3 separate regions of the Homo sapiens genome follow, and regions 1 and 3 are each linked to region 2. The links are contacts of gene promoters, found by promoter capture Hi-C in human tissues and cell types (Jung and others, 2019). All regions are on one chromosome and are shown on one strand. Each heading gives the region's core, a stretch centred on a gene start or on the middle of the fragment in contact. The rest is flanking DNA. Distances are from core to core; before and after follow the strand shown. Region 1 overlaps PRKD2 (protein kinase D2). Region 2 holds the start of DMWD (DM1 locus, WD repeat containing). Region 3 has its middle 47 kb from the start of PNMA8B.

The links. Contacts are between HindIII fragments. The study calls those that stand out against the background at their distance.
Region 1: a fragment that was not itself captured here is called in contact with the fragment with the promoter of DMWD in region 2 in 1 of the 25 tissues and cell types used here (psoas muscle).
Region 3: a contact is called between a fragment that was not itself captured here and the fragment with the promoter of DMWD in region 2, in 2 of the 25 tissues and cell types used here (dorsolateral prefrontal cortex and hippocampus).

Annotation. Positions count from the first base shown.
Region 1 is chr19:46,708,135-46,712,342 of GRCh38, reverse strand. PRKD2 (protein kinase D2) reads left to right here. Exons shown (of 18, transcript NM_016457.5): 3 at 1,305-1,436. It overlaps MIR320E (microRNA 320e), which reads left to right and starts at 2,989; the gene lies at 2,989-3,061. RefSeq lists an enhancer at 1,676-2,494. The HindIII fragment of the contact is 4,265 bases long and covers 1-3,590 here.
Region 2 is chr19:45,789,821-45,794,455 of GRCh38, reverse strand. It overlaps DMWD (DM1 locus, WD repeat containing), which reads left to right and starts at 1,611. Exons shown (of 5, transcript NM_004943.2): 1 at 1,611-2,140; 2 at 3,369-3,551. The coding sequence starts at 1,700. RefSeq lists a silencer at 1,483-1,962 and enhancers at 3,111-3,160, 3,181-3,240. The HindIII fragment of the contact is 5,315 bases long and covers 1-2,878 here.
Region 3 is chr19:46,540,867-46,545,631 of GRCh38, reverse strand. It overlaps the pseudogene PPP5D1P. Among named protein-coding and RNA genes, the nearest start is that of PNMA8B, 47 kb to the right of the region's middle. The HindIII fragment of the contact is 3,360 bases long and covers 1-3,318 here.

The DNA of each region.
Region 1 (4,208 bases), core at 209-2,708, 920 kb before region 2:
TCTCGAACTGCTGATCTTAAGTGATCTGCCCACCTCAGCCTCCCAAAGTGCTGCGATTACAGGTGTGAGCCACCGCTCCCGGCCCTGTTATTTTGTTTTGAGGCAGGGTCTTGTTCTGTCACCCAGGCTGGAATGCAGTGGCATGACCACCACTCACTGCAGCCTCTACCTCCCAGACTGAAGCAATCATCCCGCCTCAGCCTCCTGAGGTGGCTGGACTATAGGCATTACAGGCATGCACCACCACACTGGGCTTTTTTTTTTTTTCTTTTTTTTAGACAGAATCTTACTCTGTCACCCAGGCTGGAGTGCCGTGGCATGATCTTGGCTCACGGCAACCTCTGCCTCCCGGGTTCAAGCAATTCTCCTGCCTCAGCCTCCTGAGTAGCTGGGATTACAGGCACGCGGCACCAGGCCTGGCTAATTTTTGTATTTTTAGTAGAGACGGGGTTTCATCATGTTGGCCAGGCTGGTTTCGAACTTCTGACCTCAAGTGATCCGCCCACCTGGGCCTCCCAAAGTGCTGGGATTACAGATGTGAGCCACCGGGCACCGCCTATCCATGTTCTTTTTTGTTGTTGGTGGTGGTATTTTTAATTAAAAATTTTTTAATTTGGTAAAATATACATAACATAAAAATTACTATTTTAGGCCGGGTGCAGTGGCTCACGCCTGTAATCCCAACACTTTGAGAGACCGAGGCGGGCAGATCACCTGAGGTCGGGAGTTTGAGACCATCCTGGCCAACATGGTGAAACTCCGTCTCTACTAAAAATACAAAAATTAGTCGGGTGTGGTGGCGCATGCCTGTAATCCCAGCTACTCTGGAGGCTGAGGCAGGAGAACTGCTTGAACCCGGGAGGCGGACTTGTGGTGAGCCGAGATCTCACTACTGTACTCCAGCCTGGGTGACAGAGTGAAACTCTCTAACAAACACAAACAAAAAAGCCCACAACATTTTAAGCACTTTTAAGCGTACAGTTCAGTAATTTAAAGTTCACGCACACTGTTGTGCAGCCGGTCTCCAGAACTGTTGTCATCTTGCGAAACTGAAGCTCCTTGCCCGTTAAACAACTCCCCAATTCCCGCTCTGTCCCTGCCCAGGGCGTAGGGATATATGTGTTTTGTTCAGGGGTGGAGCTGGGATTTGAACCCAGGCAGAATGTAGTATGAGAGCAAATGAAGGAAGGAAGGAAAGATCACACCTTGCGGCTGGGAGCACTGTGAGAAATCAGGGAACGTGGGGTCTGGAAAAGCTTTGGCCTACCCCGCCTCAAGCATCCACCCCTATTTTCCGCCTACAGCCTCGGCCACCTTCGAGGACTTCCAGATCCGCCCGCACGCCCTCACGGTGCACTCCTATCGGGCGCCTGCCTTCTGTGATCACTGCGGGGAGATGCTCTTCGGCCTAGTGCGCCAGGGCCTCAAGTGCGATGGTGAGAGCTAAAGGGTTGGGGGCGGGGCCTGGGGCGGGGCTCTGCACCGGGGGCGGAGCGTAATGGTCCTGGCACGGGGACAGCGTGGGGAGGAGGAGCGGGTCTCAGAGCTGGGGGCGCAGCCTAGGAAGTAATAATGGGAAGAAGGATGGGCCCAGAAGCAGAGCTTGGGGAAGGAGTGGTGGGGCTGGGCCGGGGCTCAGGTCTAGGGGCGGAGCCTAGGAGGTGGAGCTGGGAGGGACAAGTAGGGGCTTAAGAACAGAGCCTAGGGGAGCAGAAGGGTGGCGGGGGAAGAGGGTGGGGCCTCTATCAGTTAGGGATCAAGCAGAGAAACATCCAGGAGGAGATATATATTGAGATATTTATATGCAAGGAATCAGCTTACAGAATTGTGTGGGCTGGCTAGGCAACTCAAATCTGGCTGGGCACAGTGGGGGAGGCCAGTAATCCCAGCACTTTGGGAGGCAAAGGTAGGTGGATCACTTGAGGCCAGGAGTTCAAGACCAGCCTGGGCAACATAGCAAGACTCTGCCTGTACAAAAAATAATTAGCCAAGCATGGTGACAGACACTTGTGGTCCCAGCCACTTGGGAGGCTGAGGCGGGAGGATCACTTGAGCCTGGGAGCTCGACACTGTAGTGAGCCCTGATTGCACCACTGCACACCAGCCTGGGTGACAGAGCGAGACCCTGGCTCAAAAACAGGAAAAAGGCCGGACACGGTGGCTCATGCCTGTAATCCCAGCACTTTGGGAGGCCGAGGCGGGTGGATCACGAGGTCAGGAGATTGAGACCCTCCTGGCTAACATGGTGAAACCCCGTCTCTACTAAAAATACAAAAAATTAGCCGGACGTGGTGGCACACGCCTGTAGTCCCAGCTACTTGGGAGGCTGAGGCAGGAGAATTGCTTGGACCTGAGAGGAGGAGGTTGCAGTGAGCCGAGATTGTGCCACTGCACTCCAGCCTGGTGATAGAGTGAGACTCCTTCTGAAAACAGAAACAAAAACAAAACAATAAAAAGAAAAAGAAAAAAAAATCCATCCTATCAGGAAGGGCAAGTGGGAACTCAGGCACAAGCTGAAGCTGATGTCCACAGGTGGAATTTCTTCATCCGAAAAGTCTCTGATCTGCTTTTTAAAACATTCAGCTGATTGAATGAGACCCACCTAGAACAAGCAGGATCACCTCTCCCACTTACAGTCAGCTGATTATGGATTTTCATCACATCCAGAAAATACCTCCACTGGGCCGGGTGCGGTGGCTCACGCCTGTAATCCCAGCACTCTGGGAGGCCGAGGCAGGTGAATCACCTGAGGTCAGGAGTTCGAGACCAGCCTGTCCAACATGGTGAAACCCCGTCTCTACTAAAAATACAAAAAAGCCGGCGTGTTGGTGGACGCCTGTAATTCCAGCTACTCGGGAGGCTCAGTCAGGAGAATCTCTTGAACCCGGGAGGCAGAGCTTGCAGTGAGCTGAGATTGCACCATTACACTCCAGCCTGGGCAACAAGAGCAAAACTCTGTCTCAAAAAAATGAAAAGAAAAGAAAATACCTCCATGGGGCCTTCTCTTCCCAGTTCTTCCTGGAGTCGGGGAAAAGCTGGGTTGAGAAGGTGAAAAGAAAAAACAAACCTTGACTGGGCACAGTGGTTCACACCTGTAACCCCAGCACTTTGGAGGCTGAGGCAGGCGGATCATGAGGTCAAGAGATTGAGACCACCCTGGCCAACATGGTGAAACCCCATCTCTCCTAAAAATACAAAAATTAGCGGGCGTGGTGGCATGTGCCTATAGTCCCAGCTACTTGGGAGGCTGAGGTAGGAGAATCACTTGAACCCAGGAGACAGAGGTTGCAGTGAGCCGAGATCGTGCCACTGCACTCCAGCCTGGCAACAGAGCGAGACTCCGTCTCAAAAAAAAAAAAAAAAAAAAAAACCACAAACAAACCAACCTTCATGGCAACATCTAGATTAGTGTCTGAATAACTGTGGATCTCGCCTAGCCAAGCTGACACATTAACATGACTATCAGGGTCCATCTCTTGTCAACCTGGCACCTGTCTTAGTTTGTCAGGGCTGCCTTAACAAAATACCACCCTGCGTGGCTTAAATGACAGACATTTACTTCTCAAAATCCCTGGAATTGTGAGAGGCTGGAAAGACAAAGATCCAGATTCTGGCAGGGTTCTGTTTCTGGTGTAGCCTGCTTTCCTGCCTTGCAGAGGGCCATCATTTCACTGTGCGCTCACATGGGACACGGAGAGAGAGATCCCTGGTATCTCTTCCCTTTATAAGGAAGGCCAGGCATGGTGGCTCATGCCTATAATCCCAGCACTTTGGGAGGATGGTGGATCGCTTGAGTCCAGGAGTTCGAGACCAGCATGGGCAACATGGTGAAACCCCGTCTCTAAAAAATACAACAAATTGGCCAGGCATGGTGGTGCATACCTCTAGTCCTAGCTACTCAAGAGGCTGAGGTGGGAGGATCACCTGGGCCTGGGAGGTTGAGGCTGCGGTGAGCCGTGATCATGCCACTGCACTCCAGCCTAGGTGACAGAACACGATTGTCTCAGAAAAAAAAAAAAAAAAAAAAAAAAAAAGGTCACCAGTCCCATTGGATTACAGCCACACTCTTTCGGCCTCAATTAACCTTAATTACCTCCATAAAGGCACCGTCTCCAGATATAGTTGCATTGGAGGTTAGGGTTTCAACATAAGAATTTTGGGGGAGACACAGACATTTAGTCCATAACAGCACCCATACATATCTCCTT
Region 2 (4,635 bases), core at 362-2,861:
GAGCGAGACTCTGTCTCAAAAAAAAAAAAAAAAAAAAAAAAAGCCGGGTGCAGTGGCTCATGCCTGTACTCCCAGCACTTTGGGAGGCCGAGGTGGGTGGATCACCTGAGGTCAGGAGTTCGAGACCAGACTGGCCAACATGGTGAAACCCCGTCTCTGAGCCGAGATGGAGCCATTGCACTCCAGCCTGGGTGACAGGGTGAGACTGTCTCAAAAAAAACAAAAACAAAAACAAAATAAAACCTCTCTACATGCCAAGTGAAAGGTGGAAGTGGGGGTGAGACAGAAATCTGGGAGACCAAGAGACACGGTTGATGTGGGGGTGGGGGAAGGGCTTGGGTAGAGGAGAAGCTTGGATCAGGGAGAACAAGGAACTGAGAAAGAGGAATTCCACGTGGTCGAATGCAAAAGACTTGGAGGCTGTAAGCGGGGGCAGAGTGAAGATAAATGGTACACATCTAGGAAGACACCCAGGTCTGTGGCCTGGTTGACTGAGTGGACGGCAGAGCTAGCCCTAAGGTGGGGATGCAAGAGAGGTGGAGGATTTGGTGTAAGACGTCAATTTCATTGTAGGATTCTTTTTTCTTTCTTTTTTTTTTTTTTTTAGAGAGACTGAGTCTGACTCTGTCCCCCAGGCTTTAGTGCAGTGATGTGAATTCATAGCAGTCTTGATCTCCTGGGCTCAAACGATCCTCCCACCTCAGCCTCCCAAAGTGCTGGGATTCTCGGATTCCAGGCATGAGCCACCATGCCCGAACCATTGTAGGATTTTTTTTTTTAAGTGTGAGATGCCCTTGGGACACTCTAGGGAGAAATCGTAGAGGCCATTGACTACATGAGACTAGAAAGATCTATGATGGGGCTGGGTGGCTTCAGCAGACATGGGGAGCACTGGCTATGAGTAGGAGCTGTTGGGATCAGGGGGAGACTTTGGGTTACGAGTGGATCACTGGGACACTGGGGCACCGTGGGGATCAATACAATTTGGGAATCAGAGGTAGGTTTTGGAGGACAAGTGAGGTTGTTGAAAATAAGAAAATCATGGAAATATACATTGGAGGTTGGTGGAAAATATGAAGGATGTTTGGAGTTAGCATTAATCAATAGTGGGTCAGAGGAAGTCCTCTGAGTTGTGTGGGGACACAGGGATTTGGTGGGTCACCAAGGGTGGGGAAGAATGGTAGCAGATGCTGTGGTCATTCAGGGATTTGAATATGTCAGTGGGAAACACTGGAGGTCAGGGGAGTGTATATTGGGCGTCTAAGGAGAGACCAGGGTCACTTGGGGTTGGCTGTGACTTCATGGGAAGGCTGGACTATGGATGAGGGCTTCTTTGTCGTGGGGGAAAAAAAAAAAAAAATCCCTCCGTTGCTAGGCAAACGTTCCCAGGGCGCGGTTGCTAAGGACTTGAGCTTTCTAACTGGCCACGCCTCTTTCCATTGCGGGCTCCGCCCCCGCAGCCAACCACAAGTCGGTCACAGGCTCAAAGGCCGCGCCCACCTTCTCGCCCCGCCCACAGTCCCAGCACCGTTACCCGAGCGACCGCGGGGATTCGTCCCGCCTCCGGATCTGGGTGCCAATCGAAGAGGCGTTGCCCGGGCGACGACCCCACCTTTTCCGGCGCGGGCCAGCGGCTTCCGGGAGGGGGCCCGGCTGCGGGCGGCAGTCCGGCAGTGGCGGGGCCCGGGGGGCGCCCAAGATGGCGGCGGGCGGCGCGGAGGGCGGCTCGGGCCCCGGCGCCGCCATGGGGGACTGCGCGGAGATTAAGTCGCAATTCCGCACGCGCGAGGGTTTCTACAAGCTACTCCCGGGCGACGGCGCCGCTCGCAGGTCGGGTCCGGCTTCCGCCCAGACTCCGGTGCCGCCTCAGCCACCGCAGCCCCCGCCCGGCCCTGCCTCCGCCTCCGGTCCCGGCGCTGCAGGCCCCGCGTCGTCCCCGCCGCCCGCAGGCCCCGGACCCGGGCCCGCCCTGCCCGCCGTGCGCCTCAGCCTCGTGCGCCTCGGGGAGCCGGACAGCGCCGGGGCCGGGGAGCCGCCCGCCACGCCCGCGGGGCTGGGCTCGGGGGGAGACCGCGTCTGCTTCAACTTGGGCCGTGAGCTCTATTTCTACCCAGGCTGCTGTCGTCGTGGGAGCCAACGGGTGAGCGGCCTGCATCGTGGGGCCCTGGGTGCTGAAAGGATGGAGGTTCCAGAGAACTGATAGGAGGGTCCCCGAATTGATATGGGGCCCTGAGATAGGCATTCTAAATGTGATGGACGTTGTAGGGCGACAGCATTGGAGGGAGTACAGGATTCTGAAATGTGATGAGAGGCCCGCGGGGTGCTGGGCAGGCATCTTGGAGGTGATGGGGGAAATCCCCTTTACCCCCGTTATGCGTAGGAGTTCTGGGATGGTGACTATTGGACATGATGGGGTATCTGAGATGAGGTGGGATCCCCCGGGTTCTGGGGTGGCAGGCATTCTGCAGGTAATGGGGAATCATGAGGTGATGCAAGCCCAGAGGTGATGGAGAACCCAGTATTGCAGCCTGGAGGTGTGGGAGAGGGGTCTTGAGATTGAGCCCAGGAATGAGGAGAAGTCTAGAAGTGATGGGGGCCTTGAAGGTGATAGGGGATCCAGAAGCTGAATGGGATTCTAGAGAAAATTGGGGTCTGGAAGTCATGAGGGTCCTGGAGGAGATGAGCGTCCGGAAGCTGATGGGAGCTCTCAAGGGAATGAGAGGCCCTGGCAGGGGAATCTGCAGGTGTGATTCAGGACATCTCTAAAGCGATGTGGTGAGAACCCTGGCCGTTTATGGTGATCCCAGAAATGATGGGGATCCTTCGGAGCCCCTAGGTAATAAATGGGCCTAAAATGTGGGAGACCGTGAGGTTTGACGGGTCCCAGAACTGTGGCGGTTTAGGGACTACAAAGTGAAGAGAATGCTAGGATGTTAGGCTTTAGAGTCCTGGAAATTTGGGTGACCTCAAGGTTTGGGGGTCTTGGAATAGTGTGGTACTAGGTCCCAAGGGAGTTGCTGAGGTTATAGGATGGAGTGGTGAGGCTAAAAGGAATCGGAGCTTAGGAACTGTGTGGACCCAGAACCCTGATTATGTGGACAAGGGTGTCTCTGAATTAGAGGTGACCCAACTTTGGGGAGGCACTGTGGTCAAGGGGGATCCTTACCATCTTTTTTGCTACTCTTGTCTGTGATTTGGGTCCCCTTCCCGTCTGTGGTTGCCCCGTCCTTCGCAATCCACCTACTCACCTCCCCACTTCCCTCTGGGTTCTAACCCTGCTTCCTCTTAGTGGTTTCCCCCAACCTCAACATCCTCTTCCTTCTCCTCAGTGGCATACACCATTAACTCCTTTTCTCCCACCCCTCAAGTCCATTGACCTCAACAAGCCAATTGACAAGCGGATCTACAAGGGCACCCAGCCCACCTGCCACGATTTCAACCAGTTCACTGCTGCCACCGAGACCATCTCGCTGCTGGTGGGCTTCTCAGCGGGTCAAGTGCAGTACCTGGATCTCATCAAAAAGGACACCAGCAAGCTGTTCAATGAGGAGGTGATTGCAGCCCCCAGAGCCCCCAACTTCTCTGCCTTCTCACCTACCCACTATATGCCATTAGGATGCAGCTGCCTGCGGAACAGTGTAGGCCTGAGAGGGGCAGGACCAGGGAGAGATGGAGAATGGGGTGACAGCAGCTAATGACAGCTGCCTTTACTGTACCCAGGCCCTGTGCTGTGTTACCCTTGTGCTGAATACTTTACTCCTTGGGTTTTCTTTCTTTCTTTCTTTCTTTTATTTATTTATTTTGAGATGGAGTCTCACCCTGTCACCCAGGCTGGAGTGCAGTGGCGCGATCTCTGCTCACTGCAAGATCCACCTCCCGGGTTCATGCCATTCTCCTGCCTCAGCCTCCTGAGTAGCTGGGACTTCAGGCACCTGCTGCCACGCCCGCCTAATTTATTGTAGTTTTAGTGGAGATGGGGTTTCACCGTGTTAGTCAGGATGGTCTCGATCTCCTGACCTCGTGATCTGCCCACCTCGGCCTCCCAAAGTGGTGGGATTACAGGTGTGAGCCACCATGCCCGGTTCTTTTTTTTTTTTTTAATTGTAATTGTAATTTTTATTGTTTTTAATTTTTTTTTTCTTTTTAAGGCGGAGTCTCACTCTGTCGCCCAGGCTGGAGTGCAGTGGTACAATCTCGGGTCACTGCAACCTCCGCCTCCCAGGTTCAAGCAATTCTCCTGCCTCAGCCTCCTGAGTAGCTGGGACTACAGGTGCGCACTATCATACCTGGCTAATTTTTTTTTTTGAGATGGAGTCTCGCTCTGTCGCCCAGGCTGGAGTGCAGTGGCGCGATCTCGGCTCACTGCAACCTCTGCCTCCCGGGTTCACGCCATTCTTCTGTCTCAGCCTCCCCAGCAGCTGGGACTACAGGCGCCCAGCACCACGCCCAGCTAATTTTTTTGTATTTTTAGTAGAGACGGGATTTCACCGTGTTAGTCAGGATAGTCTCGATCTCCTGACCTCGTGATCTGCCCGCCTCGGCCTCCCAAAGTGCTGGAATTAAAGGCGTGAGCCACCACACCCGGCCAATTTTTGTATTTTTGGTAGAGATGGGGTTTCACCATGTTGGCCAGGC
Region 3 (4,765 bases), core at 389-2,888, 750 kb before region 2:
GACAAAATATCAGCAAATTCTCAAAGCAACTTTGAGAAGCAGACATCATTTTGAAATCCCATTCTACAGATAAGTGCGCTGAGGCTGCAGTAGCAAAGCTGGAGTTTGAACCTAGATCTGTGCGAGTCCAAAGGCTAAATTCTCTCTCTCTCTCTCTTTTTTTTTTTTTTTTTTTTGAGACAGAGTCTTGCTCTGTTGCCCAGGCTGGAGTACAGTAGTGCGATCTCAGTTCACTGCCACCTCTGCCTCCTGGGTTCAAGCGATTCTCCTCCCTCAGCCTCCTGAGTAGCTGGGATTACAGGTGCCTGCCACCATGCCCAGCTGATTTTTGTATTTTTAGCAGAGATGGGGTTTCACCATGTTGGCTAGGTTGGTCTTGAACTCCTGACCTCAAGTGAGCCTGCCTCGGCCTCCCAAAGTGCTGGGATTATAGGCACGAGCCACCACACATGACTCAAAGGCTAAACTCTTGAGAGTGGGCCATGCTGCCCCAAGAAGCTCCACTGGATTTATTTGAAGGTCCTTGCCAAATCAGTTGGGGAAAAAAAGGCAGATTCAGCCCATGGATCCTTAAGTACCACTCGAAGAGTGGCATGCTTTTCCCAAATGTCACCTTTTGTCTTTAAGGCAAAGGTGGTGCCAGATCTTCAGCTCTCATGTCTCCTGCACAAACTCTCCCAGGCGTGAGAAGAGACTCCACTCTGCAGAAACTCTGTCTCTAAGGGGGAAGTGACAGTCAGAGAAGGGAACAGGGATATTACTGAGGCCAGAAGGCCCCTCTCCCCTCAGTGAGGCCCACGCTCGTGCCCAAAGCCTGTCTGTCTTCCTAAATAATGCAGTGTGGAAGAGTAGAGGCTTTGCAGCCAAGCAGACAGGATTTCATAACCCTGGTTCCAGTACTTCCCAGTGTGTGATCTTGGACCATCAACTGGGCCTCTGAACCTCAATCTCCTCCTCTATAAAAGTGGCACAATGGCCGCAGGCGGTGGCTCACGCCTGTAATCCCAGCATTTTGGGAGGCCGAGGTGGGCGGATCACTTGAGGTCAGGAGTTTGAGACCAGCCTGGCCAACGTGGCGAAACACTGTCTCTACTAAAAATACAAAAATTAGCCGGGCGTGGTGGTGGGCACCTGTAATCTCAGCTATTCAGGAGGCTGAGGCAGGAGAATCACTTGAACCCAGGAGGCGGAGGTTGCAGTGAGCCGAGATAGTGCCATTGCACTCCAGCCTGGGCAACAAGAGCAGAACTCTATCTCAAATAAAACCCAGAAAACCAAAAAAAAAAAAAAAAAAAAAAACCCAAAACAAAACAAAAAGAAAAAACAAAAACAACAACAACAAAAAATGGCACAGTAATAGCTTAATTCCCAAGCTTGTTCAGGATTTTGTGGGTCAGGAATGTGAAAAGGGTTTGACTGGATGTTCATTTCTGTTCCACGTGGCATCATGTGATGAGGGCTGGAGGACCCACCTCCAAGATGGCTTCTTCACTCCCATGTCTGGAAGCTTCAATTCTCCTGGGCCTTCTCACAGCTCCATGCTCTTAGGGGAGCTGCAATTCTTTTTTTATTATTTATTTATTTATTTATTTGAGACGGAGTTTCGCTCTGTCGCCTAGGCTGGAGTGCAGTGGCCGCGATCTGGGCTCACTGAAAGCTCCACCTCCTGGGTTCACACCATTCTCTTGCCTCAGTCTCCCGAGTAGCTGGGACTGCAGGCGCCTGCCACCACGCCCGGCTAATTTTTGTATTTTTAGTAGAGACGGGGTTTCACCGTGTTAGCCAGGATGGTCACGATCTCCTGACCTCGTGATCCGCCGCCTTGGCCTCCCAAAGTGCTGGGATTACAGGCGTGAGCCACCGCGCCCGGCTGGGGAGTTGCAATTCTTACACAGTAGCCTGGGAGCCAAAGAGATCACGACGGAATCTGCTGGTTCCCTTAAAATGTAGATCCAGGCCTGGCGGTGTCACTTGTTTGTTTGTTTGTTTGTTTGTTTAGACAGGGTCTCGTTCTGTCACCCAGGCTGGAGTGCAGCGGCGCCATCATAGCTCACCGCAGCCTCTACCTCCTAGGCTCAAGGGATCCTCTTGCCTCAGCCTCCCGAGTAGCTGGGACTACAGGTGCGGGCCACCACGCCAGCCTATTTTTAAAAGTTATATTTTTGGCCGGGAGTGGTGGCTCACGCCTGTAATCCCAACAGTTTGGGAGGCGGAGGTGGGTGGAAGTCGGGAGTTCAAGACCAGCCTGACCAACATGGATATACCCTGTCTCTACTAAAAATACAAAATTAGCCACGTGCGGTGGCGGACCCCTGTCATTCCAGCTACTCGGGAGGCTGAGGCAGGAGAATCGCTTGAACCCAGGAGGCGGAGTCTGTGGTGAGCCGAGATCACGCCATTGCACTCCAGCCTGGGCGACAAGAGCGAAACTCCGTCTCACAACAAAACAAAAAAGTTATTTTTAGTAGAGTTGGGGTCTTTCTGTGTTGCCCAGGTTGGTCTTGCAGTCTTGGGATCAAGCGATCCGCCCACCTCTGCTTCTCGGTGTTGGAATTACAGGCGTGAGCCGCCATGCCCAGCACAGTGTCACATCTGTCATATTCTATGGGTCAAAGCAGTCAAGGGTTCTTTCTCAATCAGACTAAGACCAACAGGAACAAGCTTATTGTATTAATTTGCTAGGGCAGCCTTAACAGACAAGAAGGGAGGTGAGTCGCCTTTTAGTTTAAGTAGATACGGTCATGCTATTCTCTAATTGGCCACCAGATGGCGCGCTGGACTTACTATTAGTACAGTTTGTAATTGCCCTTCCGAGAGTGGCCACCGCCACTCAAGCGACTGGACACTGGACTAAGTGCTTCTGTTAATTTGGATAAGACAAGACTCTCACTTTCTTTGATAAAATATAAATCTAGAAGAGCCCTAGGCTTTTATTGCATCATGATCATGGAAGGAGAGAAATGATCCTTTTCTGATTTGCCAGAGAAAACCAACCAGTATTTATTCTTTAGGAAATACAGAGATGCTATTTAACCTCCTGGTCACCATAGCAACAAATAATCAAGGAAGACAACCAATCAGAATGCAGGTTTCTTTGGGAGGTTCTTTTTTTTTTTTTTCAGATATTGCAACAATTTCTAAAAAAATCTTAGACTCTTTTGTTCAAATTATCCTTTCAAGGAAAGACACAAATGAACAGAGTTAACAAATGAGGCTGGTAACAGGAAAATTAACTGGAGCTCCTGGCTGCACGGGAGAACAGAATGAATGTTTAGGGTATGTTCTCAATGTGCCACTCTATTAAAATTGATTTTTTTTTTTTTTTTTTTTTTTTTTGTAGACAGAGTCTTGCTCTGTCACCCAGGCTGGAGTGCAGTGGCGTGATCTCGGTTCAATGCAAACTTCGCCTCCCAGGTTCAAGCGATTTTCCTGCCTCAGCCTCCCGAGTAGCAGGGATGATAGGTGCCTGCCACCACGCCCGGCTAATTTTTTTGTATTTTTAGTAGGGATGGAGTTTCACCATGTTGGCCAGGCTGGTCTCAAACTCCTGACTTCAAGTGATCCGCCCTCCTCGGCCTCCTAAAGTGAAAAAACTAATTATTTAGAGCAATTTCATGATGCAGAATAGAACCCCTTCCTATACAGCTGCAAGAGAGAACGGGCTTTTTTTTTTTTATGTTTGAAAGCACTGACTTTGCTAAGCGTGGTGGCTCATGCCTGTAATCCCAACACTGGGAATCTGAGATGGGAGGACCACTTAAGCCCAGGAGGCCAAGGCTGCAGTGAGCTATGTTTGCACCACTGCACTCCAGCCTGGGCAATGGAGTGAGACCCTGTCTCAAAAAAATGCAATAATTAAATATAATAAACACTTGAAACAAACTTTATAGGAACCACAGTCTCAAGATGAAGAGTTACATTCCAGAAAGAATCCACACAAGACCACTGGGCTTAACATTCTGTCTTATAGGCAAGCTTTTTGCTTACAATTCACCCAGGAAATAAACATGATATATATAGATCCAATGTCCATTCTTTGTTTTTATTTGTTTTTTTTTGTTTGTTTGTTTTTTGGAGACTGAGTCTCACTCTTGTCACCCAGGCTGGAGTGCAATGGTGAGATCTCAGCTCCCTGCAACCTCTGCCTCCCGGAGTCAAGCGATTCTCCTGCCTCAGCCTCCCGAGTAGCTGGGATTACAGGCTCCTGCCACCACGTCCGGCTAAATTTCATATTTTTAGTGGAGACGGGGTTTCACCATGTTGGCCAGGCTGGTCTCAAACTCCTGACCTCAGATGATCCGCCCGCCTCAGCCTCCCAAAGTGCTGGGATTACAGGCGTGAGCCACCGCGCCCGGCCTCATTTTTTCATTCATTCAGTTTACATTTACTGAGCATCTCCTCAGTGCCAGTATAATTCAGGAACATAGAAGTGAACAATTCGAACATAGGTTTCTGCTCATATGGACCTTACCATCTTGTAACCTAATTAGAACCTTCCCTTGCCTGCCTGGGAAACACCTGTGCCCACAGTCCCTCCAGTCCCGAGTTTCCCATTGTGACAAATTTAATTGTGTTCCCTCCAAATTCCTGTGTTGAAGTCCTAACCTCCAGTACTTCAGAATATAACTATACTTGGAGAAAGGGCGTTTAGAGAGGCAATTAAGTTAAAATGAGGTCTTTAGAGTGGGCACCAACCCAACATGGCAGATGTCCTCATAAGAAGAGGAAATTTAGGCCGGGCGCAGTGGCTCACGCCTGTAATCCC